Regions from separate parts of the Homo sapiens genome. Here region 2 is linked to region 1. Evidence: promoter capture Hi-C in human tissues and cell types (Jung and others, 2019). All regions are on one chromosome and are shown on one strand. Each heading gives the region's core, a stretch centred on a gene start or on the middle of the fragment in contact. The rest is flanking DNA. Distances are from core to core; before and after follow the strand shown. Region 1 holds the start of ACTL6A (actin like 6A). Region 2 overlaps ZMAT3 (zinc finger matrin-type 3).

What was found. The method cuts DNA at HindIII sites, captures the fragments that hold promoters and counts their contacts. A contact is called where the count stands out against the background at its distance.
Region 2: a fragment that was not itself captured here is called in contact with the fragment with the promoter of ACTL6A in region 1 in 1 of the 25 tissues and cell types used here (dorsolateral prefrontal cortex).

The regions. Positions count from the first base shown.
Region 1 is chr3:179,561,375-179,566,392 of GRCh38, forward strand. It overlaps ACTL6A (actin like 6A), which reads left to right and starts at 1,552. Exons shown (of 14, transcript NM_004301.5): 1 at 1,552-1,743. The coding sequence starts at 1,719. RefSeq lists silencers at 1,414-1,643, 4,373-4,432. The HindIII fragment of the contact is 12,889 bases long and covers 1-5,018 here.
Region 2 is chr3:179,046,841-179,051,295 of GRCh38, forward strand. The region is part of intron 2 of ZMAT3 (zinc finger matrin-type 3); the gene reads right to left. Among named protein-coding and RNA genes, the nearest start is that of ZMAT3, 23 kb to the right of the region's middle. The HindIII fragment of the contact is 4,901 bases long and covers 1-4,455 here.

The sequences.
Region 1 (5,018 bases), core at 302-2,801:
ATTCTTAGCTCAAGGCCAAAAAAAAAAAAAAAAAAAGGCAGTCTTCCCACCTGCTTCCCCTTTTCCCCACCTCCCCTCCCCACCCCACACACAAAAGACTGGATTTGGCCCTAGTGCCATAGTGTGCTGACACACATCTGCATTATCTCACTGGGTTAATAGGGCTTTTCTAAATGGTCAGATACACTGTGATTATATTGTCAAGTGAATGGGAAAGAGTTTTCCCGCTAGCCTTTTTTCCCACCCTACTGCCTCATCACTTTCTGCCACCCTCTGCCACTGAGACTGATGGGGTTTTAGTCAATCGTTTCTAAGGTTAAAAGTAGGCACTGCATGTCTAGACTCTAGACAAGGATCAATTACAAGGATAGGCAGCAATCTTAAGGGTTTGAGCGCTGGAGTGTCCTGATCGGGTTTGGGCGTTTTCACAGATGAAGCTCCCTTGATCAAGAGTGGCAAAGGGACACAGCAACAAGTTGTTGCAGTAATCTGGGGATAAAGGAAGGTGATCTGGACTAGGCTGGTAGAAATAGGGGACTAAGGCTGTTTTTGGGATGCCTATTTAGGATTGGGTGCTTGCTTGAATGAAGATTGATTAGCTGTTTTAAATACCTCTCACAGGATAAAAGAAATTGATTTTTTTTTTTTTTGAGACAGAGTCTTGCTCTGTCGCCCAGGCTGGAGTGCAGTGGCGCAATCTCGGCTCACTGCAACCTCTGCCTCCCGGGTTCAAGCGACTCTCCTGCCTCAGCCTCCTGCGTAGCTGGGACTACAGGCCCGGCTACTTTTCTCATTTTTAGTAGACACAGGGTTTCACTGTGTTGCCTAGGCTGGTCTCGAACTCCTGACCTTGTGATCTGCCCGCCTCGGCCTACCAAAGTGCTCGGATTACACGCATGAGCCACCACGCCCGGCCTGAAATTTTTTTTTTTTTTTAAAGAAATGAGTAAGTTTTTTAATAGTTTTTAAAGCGCTACCTAGGTTTAGCTGGGATACCGCATAATTTCATTCTTCTTTTACTTATTAATAACCATTTTAAAAACTGCAAGATCCTATCAATTTGTCTGATTTACTGATTCCCCTATCCCAAAGTGGAGCGCAAAATTTTTACTTTTTCAACATAAAAGTTAGTTTAAAATACTTTTTCTGAAGAAAAAAAGAAAGAAATCCGCATTCCCCACAGTCACTGGACAGGAATCTCGGCGTGGAGACACCCGTTCAATTTCCAGGGGTCTACCTTCCCCTACCCGGGTTCCCGCCGCTCCTCAGCGCCCAGACGCACCTCCTAGTCCCGCCCCCATGCTTCTTCCAGCCTTCCTCCTTCTTCTCCCACTGCCTCCGCCCATTCCCTCGCCCACCCGGGAAGCTCCGCCCCCTCCAGCTCCGCAACCCAACTCCTTCTGTCCTGCTGTCGCTTTCCTCTTTCCCGCCCCCATGGCTGCCTTCGATTGGCTAAACCTGCTGGGCCGCGGCGGGGATGCGGCGCAGCCGCATTCTGATTGGCTAGACTTAGGCCTGGACCCTAGTGATTGGCTGATAGGAGGAGCCAGCAAGTGTGGCTGAGCTCCGGGGTGTGTGGACGCCGCTTTGTTGCCTGAGGTGGGTGGCGGTGGAAGTTAAGGGAGTCAGGGGCTATCGCTCCTCGAGACTCGCAGTCGCGGCCACTGCAGTCACTTCGCCAGTTAGCCCTTAGGGTAGGAGTCGCGCCGGCAGCAGCCATGAGCGGCGGCGTGTACGGGGGAGGTGAGTGAGTGCGGCCGGACGAGAGAGCGCGCCTTTTCGGCGTGTGGGGTTTGTAACCGCCGCTCCCAGCCCTCCCCTCCCCGGCGTTCCCTTCCGGTCTCCCCCTCTCGGGACCCCGGCCTCCCCGCCCCGTCCCCGCCCCACGCTCTGCCCGCCCCCGGAGCCCACCCGGCTCGCCGTGCTCCTCGGGCTCCCTGAAGTGGCGGCTCTCTGTGGCCTCTTCCTGCCTCTGTCCCCGGAGGAGCAGGGTTTTGGGGTGCGCGCTCGGTTCTCTAGGGAGCCTCGGGGCTGGGCGGGAGGCTCAGTCTAGCCGGCCGCCGGGCCCCGGCTTGGGTGACCGCCCCAGGGTCGCATCTCCCCGAGTGCCTCCTGGACTCAGCTGTGTCGGGACGCGTGTGCGCCCGCCTAAACTTGGAAGGTCCCGGCGGTTTGCAAGCGTGGACGGAGGGTTCCCAGAGTGTCCCATAGGTGGCAAAGCGAGCCTCAAGCCGTAGAACTGACTAGGGAAGCGGCGGCCACTTAGGGTACTGCCTCCTCCCCGTCTGCGCCCCATGCGCGAGCTGCCTCACCTTTCAGTAACTCTTGCCTGTTTTTTGGCTGCGGAGTCTCCAGAGTGACTCGTGGGCGGGTCTGTTTGAGATCAATTCAGGAGCACGTGTAATTTAAGGATGCCCAGAAAGTTTGCTGGGGGTCCTAGGCGTGTTATTTTTTCACTTTCTTTGATTAGACTGTGGTGTGGTAGGAAGATTACCAGGTGCCGGGGGTTACAGACCTGGGTTGAAATATCCACCTCACTCTTTATTAAGCGCTTTGGTCTTGGGCAGTTTATGTAACTTTCCAACTTCAGGCCTCATTTATGGAATAATTCCTAGCCGATGGGGGTGGGCATGAAGGTTAAATGAAATAATGCTGCATTTGCCACTTAAAGTCTGGCCCATGGACCAGCAGTGTCAGCATCACCTGCAAGCCTGTTAGAAATGCAGGATCTCACGCGTCATTCAGAATCTACTGATTTAGAGCCTCCATTTTTGCAAGATCTGCAGGTTAATCGAAACACTGATACATATAATTCATGTGTTGGGTTGTGTTTGATGAGTTAGAGACCCAGAAAACAAATCCAGACTATTGCTGTTGTTACTGTGTCTAGTAGTGATGCTGTTTCTATAAAGGATGTCATTTTACAGGTAGGAAACAACAAAAATAAGATTTTTCCTTCATGTTCCCCAAGAAAATCACATCACCCCTAAACTTGGAAGGAGAAAAACATTAAAATCCTCAAAAAAGACAAAAGCCTTTTTAGTAGAGTAGAGGTTCAATTCTTGAGGATTTTTATAGACTAGAAATTGCATCCTAGGTTTTAAACATCCAGAACTCTGTGGTTCTATTAAGCCTCCTGCCTCCCATGGCCACTCTCCTACTTTGGGTTCATGGGGCTTGATTTTTAATGAAGCAGGGTACAGGAATTAGATGTATCTCCCATCCTGGAAAAGGAACAGATGTAAAATTCTGAGAATTTAGAGTCTTAAATTAAAATTCCACCATATCCAGTTTACTAAACTAATTAGGACAGGAAAATGAGCTGATATGTTGGATTTTTTCTATTTCACAAAAATGTTTTTTGAGTACTTGCTATGTGGCAGGTATAGGCTCTTGTCATCAAGAAGCTCAGTCTTGTAGATGAGTCTGTTAGGTAAATAGACACCGTATTTCACTGATTCTTCGTTGTACATTTTTTCCCACATTTAAACAGCTGAAGTTGGAATATGTCTTTTTTTTTTTTTTTTTTAATAGAGATGGGTCTTGAACTCCTGAGCTCAGGCGGTCTTCCCACCTCAGCCTCCCAAAGTGCTAGGATTACAGGTTTGAGCCACTGCCCCCAGTCAGAATATGTCTTAACAGTGCTGGCGTGGCAGAGTTTAATTGCCATATTATTTTGTTAGTGATGCAGGAAATAGTGGTGCATCATGTAGTTGATAGCATCTTATATTGATCAGAAATGGTAACTGTAATTCAATGAGAGATGTTCATTGATAACAATATGTAGAAGGGGCCGGGTGCGGTGTAATCCCAACACCTTGGGAGGCCGAGGCGGGCGGATCACTTGAGGCCAGGAGTTCAAGACCAGCTTGGCCAACATGACAAAACCCTGTCTCTACTAAAAATACAAAAATTAGCCAGGCGTGGTGGTGCATGCCTGGAGTCCCAGCTGCTGGGGAGGCCGAGGCACAAGAATCGCTCGAACCTGGAACTGCACTCCAGCCTGGGTGACAGAGCGAGACTCTATCCTAAAAAAAACAAAAACAAACATATATATATGTGTGTTATATATGTTATATATATTACATATATGTTGTATATATTATATATTATATGTTATATATGTCCTATATATACATATATATAGTGCAAAGGTAGCTCAGAGAATAAAGTTATTGATTCCGTGTGGTGGAGTCAAGGGACTTTACAATAGAGGTAATGGGGATGATGGAGGAGGAGTGGAAAGGGACAGCATATGCAAAGGTTAGCTGAGTGAGAGTATGTGGTGCGTTCAGGAGATGACATATTACCCAGTAAGTTAGTGTATGAGGCAGGAAGTGAGACTGCTACCAGATTTTGCTACACCTTGAATTTCAACTGGCTAGAGTGATTTAAATTTTATCAAATACAGTGATGAGAAACCACGGAATGATTCACCCCCTAATTTTTTTTGAAGGATTTATGTACCAAAATAATGACAGTTACAGTATTGAAAGATCATAGTGCAGCAGTTGGAAGGGTGGATTGAAGAGGCAAAGAGGTGGAGGCACAATATCTGTAGGGAATTGTAGTTTCCCGGTTGAGATAAGAGCTCGATTGAAGGCAGTGGCAATGGTATTAAAAAGGAGGGGATTTGAGAAATACTTAGCAGAAATATTTGGCAGAACTTGAAAGATGGAGGTGTTCACAAAAACTCTCAGATTTTTGCCAGTGTGGACTGGTGGTCAGCAATGTGTTAGGCAATGCTGAGATCAGCAGTGCTTCAGATGTGTTGAATTTGAGATACCCATGAGGCATCAGATGCAATTATGTTGATGTACAGTGAAAAGTTCAGGATATGGATGTAGACACTGGTTAGAGCTTGAGAGAGAGAGAGATTTGAAATTGGAATTATCAGTATTTAGGTAGAAGTTGAAGCTATAGGAGTAGAATATATTACCCAGGAAAGGGTAAATTAGGGAAGGAGCTCCTAACATAGGGTTTGTGGCCTTCCCAAAGTTTCCATGGTAGAACTATAT
Region 2 (4,455 bases), core at 1,172-3,671, 510 kb before region 1:
TGCAGCAAGCCCCACCCAAGGAGAGACTGACCTCAGACATGCCTAACCCTGCCCCAACCCGATGGTCTTCTCTACCCACACTGGTGGCCGAAGACAAAGGACATAAGCTCTTGGGAGCTCTGGGGCCCCACCCACCGCATGATCATCTCTATACTACCATAGCTGATGCACTCTTGAAAGCACCACCTCCTGGCTGGAGACCAACCAACACAAAACCAGCACACTTAACAAAAATACAACCAAGGACCCTCACTGAGTCCACTTCACTCCCCGGCTACCTCCACCAGAGCAGGTGCTGGTATCCACAGCTGACAGACATGAAGATGAATCATATCACAGGACTCCCTGCAGACACTGCCCAGTACCAACCCAGAGCCCAGTAGCTCCACTAGGTGGCTAGATCCAGAAGAAAAATAACAATTATTGCAGTTCAGCTCTCAGTAAGCCCCATCCTAGAGGAAAGGTGAGAGCACCACATCAGGGGAGCACCCTGTGGGACAAAAGAATCTGAAGAGCAGCCTCTGAGTCCCAGATCTTCCCTCTGACATAGTCTACCCAAATGAGGAAGAACCACAAAAATAATTCTTGTGACATGACAAAACAAGGTTCTTTAACACCCCCAAAAGATCACCTTAGCTCACCAGCAGTGGATCCAAACCAAGGTGAAATATCTGAATTGCCAGAAAAAGAATTCAGAAGGTCAACTACTAATCCAATCAAGGAGGCACCAGGCCGAGCGTGGTGGCTCACGCCTGTAATCCCAGCACTTTGGGAGGCTGAGGCAGGCAGATCACCTGAGGTCAGGAGTTCAAGACCAGCCTGACCAACATGGTGAAACCCAATCTCTACTAAAAATACAAAAAAAAAAAATAGCCGGATGTGGTGGTGCTCGCCTATAGTCTCAGCTACTCAGGAGGCTGAAGCAGGAGAATCACTTCAGTCCGGGAGGCAAAGGTTGCAGTGAGCTGAGATCATGTGACTGCACTCCAGCCTGGGTGACAGAGTAAGACTCAGTCTCAAAAAAAAAAGGAGGCACCAGAGAAAGGTGAAGTCCAACTTAAATAAATCAAAAAATAATACAGGTATGAATGGAAAATGTTCAGTGAAATAGATAGCATAAATAAAAAACAATCACAACTTCTGGAAATGAAGGACACGCTCAGAGAAATGCAAAATGCACTGAAAAGTCTCAGCAATAGAGTCGGACAAGTAGAAGAACTTCAGAGCTCAAATATAAGGCTTTTGAATTAACCCAAATTGATAAAGACAAAGAAAAAAGAATTTTTAAAAAATGAACAAAGCCTCGAAGAAGTTTGAGATTACGATAAACGACCAAACCTAAGAATAATTGCTGTTCCTGAGGAAGAAGAGAAATCTAAAAGTTTGCAAAACATATTTGAGGGAATAATTGAGGAAAACTTCCTCAGCCTTGCTAGAGATCTAGACATCCGAATACAAGAAGCTCAAAGAACACCTAGGAAATTCATTGCAAAAAGATCATCGCCTAGGCATACAGTCATCAGGTTACCTAAAGTCAAGATGAAAGAAAGAATCTTAAGAGCTGTGAGGCAAAAGCATCAGGTAACCTATAAAGGAAAACCTATCAGATTAACAGCAGATGTCTCAGCCGAAACCCTACAAGCTAGAAGGGACTGGGGTCCTATCTTTAGCCTTCTTAAACAAAACAATTATCAGCCAAGAACTTTGTATCCAGTGAAACTAAGCTGCATAAATGAAGGAAAGATACTGTCTTTGTCAGACAAAAAACTTCTGAGAGAATTTGCCACTACCAAGCCAGCATTACAAGAACTACTAAAAGGAGTTCTAAATCTTGAAACAAATCCTCCAAATACACAAAAATAGGAAATCCTTAAAGCATAAATCTCACAGGACCTATAAAATAACACAATGGAAAAAAACCCAAGGTATTCAGGCAAAAAAAAAAAAAAAACAGCACAATGAACAAAATAGTACTTCACATGTCAATATTAACATTGAATGCAAATTGCCTAAATTCTCCACTTAAAATATTCCAAATGGCAAAACGGATAAGAATTCACCAACCAAGTATCTGCTATCTTCAAGAGACTCGTGATACATAAGGACTCACATAAACTTAAGGTAACAGGGTGAAAAAAGATATTCTATGCAAATGGACAACAAAAGTGAGCAGGAGTAGCTATTCTTATTTGAGACAAAATAAACTTCAAAGCAACAGCAGTTAAAAAAGACAAAGAGGGACATAATACAATAATAAAAGGACTAGTCCAAAAGGAAAACATCACAATCCTAAATATATATGCACCTAATACTGGAGCTTCCAAACTTATAAAACAATTACTACTAGACCTAACAAATGAGATAGACAGCAATACAATAATTGTGGGGGACTTCAATACTCCACTGACAGCACTAGACAGGTCTTTAAGACAGAAAGTCAACAAAGAAACAATAAACTATACGTTACAATAAATGCACTTCACAGATATTTACAGAGGATCCTACCCAACAACTGCAGAATATACATTCTATTCATCAGCACATGGAACATTCTTCAAGGTAGACCATATGATAGCCACAAAACAAGTCTCAACAAATTTAAGAAAATCGAACTTATAGCAAGTACTTTCTCAGACCACAGTGGAATAAAATTGGAAATCAACTCCAAAAGAAACCCTCAAAACCATGCGAATACATGGAAATTAAATAACCTGCTCCTGAATGATTGTTGGGTCAACAATAAAATCAAGATGGAAATTAAAAAATTATTTGAACTGAACGATAATAGTGATACAACCTATGAAAACCTCTGTGATACAGCAAAGGCAGTGCTAATAGCATTAACTGCCTACATCAAAAAGTTTGAAAGGGGCTGGGCATGGTTGCTCATGCCTGTAATCCCAGCACTTTGGGAGGCCAAGGCAGGCGGATCACGAGGTCAAGAGATCAAGACCATCCTGGCTAACATGGTGAAACCACGTCTCTACTAAAAATACAAAAAATTAGCTGGGCGTGGTGGTGGGCGCCTGTAGTCTCAGCTACTCGGGAGGCTGAGGCAGGAGAATGGCATGAACCTGGGAGGCAGAGCTGGCAGTAAGACAAGATCGCGCCACTGCACTCTAGTCTGGGTGACAGAGCAAGACTCCGTCTCAAAAAAAAAAAAAAAAAAAAAAAAAAGCCAAGCCTAAAAGAACACAAATAGACAATGTAAGGTCACACCTCACAGAACTGGAGAAACAAAACAATCCAAACCCAAACCCAGCAGAAGAAAAGAAATAGTCAAGATCAGAACAGAACTAAATGAAATTGAAACAAAAAAAATACAAAAGATTAAGTGAAACAAAAGGTTGGTTTTTTGACAAGATAAATAAAACTAATAAACAATTATTGAGGTTAGCCAAGAAAATAAGAGAGAAAATCCAAATAAGCTCAATTAGAAATGAAATGGGAGATATTACAACAAATACCACAGAAATACAAAAAATCATTCAAGGCTATTATGAACACCTTTATGTGCATAAACTAGAAAACCTAAAGGAGATGGGTAGAAATATACAACCCTCCTAGATTAAACCAAGAATACATAGAAACTGAACAGACCAATAACAAGCAGCAAGATTGCAATGGTAATTAAAAAGTTACCAACAAAAAAAAAAGTCCAAGACCAGAAAGATGCACAGCTGAATTCTATCAGACATTCAAAGAAGAACTGGTACCAATCCTACTGACACTACTCCAAAAGACAAAGAAATAGGGAATCCTCCCGAAATCATTCTATGAAGTCCATATCACCCTAACACCAAAACCAGGAAAGGATATTCCAAATAAAAGAAAACTACAGACCAATATCCCTGATGAACACAGATGCAAAAATCCTCAACAAAATACTAGCTAAGCAAATCCAACAGCATATCAAAAAGATAATCCACCATGATCAAGTGGGTTTCACACCAGGGATTTAGGGATGGTTTTACATCTAGGGATGGTTTAACATCCTCAAGTCAATAAATGTGATACACTACATAAAAGAATTAAAAACAAAAATCATATGATCACCTCAATAGACACAGAAAAAGCATTTGACAAAATCTAGCATCCCTTTATGGTTAAAACCCTCAGCAAAATCAGCATAGAAGAAACACACCTTAAGGTAATAAAAGCCATCTATGACAAACCCACAGCCAACATTATACTGAATGCGGAAAAGTTGAAAGCATTCCCCCTGAGAACTGGAGCAAGACAAGGATGCCCACTTTCACCACTTCTATTCACCCTAGTACTGGAAGTCCTAGCCAGAGCAATCAGACAAGAGAAAGAAATAAAGGGCATCCAAATCAATAAAGAGGAAGTCAAACTGTCACTGTTTGCTAATGAAAATGATTGTGTATCTAGAAAACCCTAAAGACTTATCCAAAAAGCTTCTGGTACTGGTAAATGAATTCAGCAAAGTTTTAG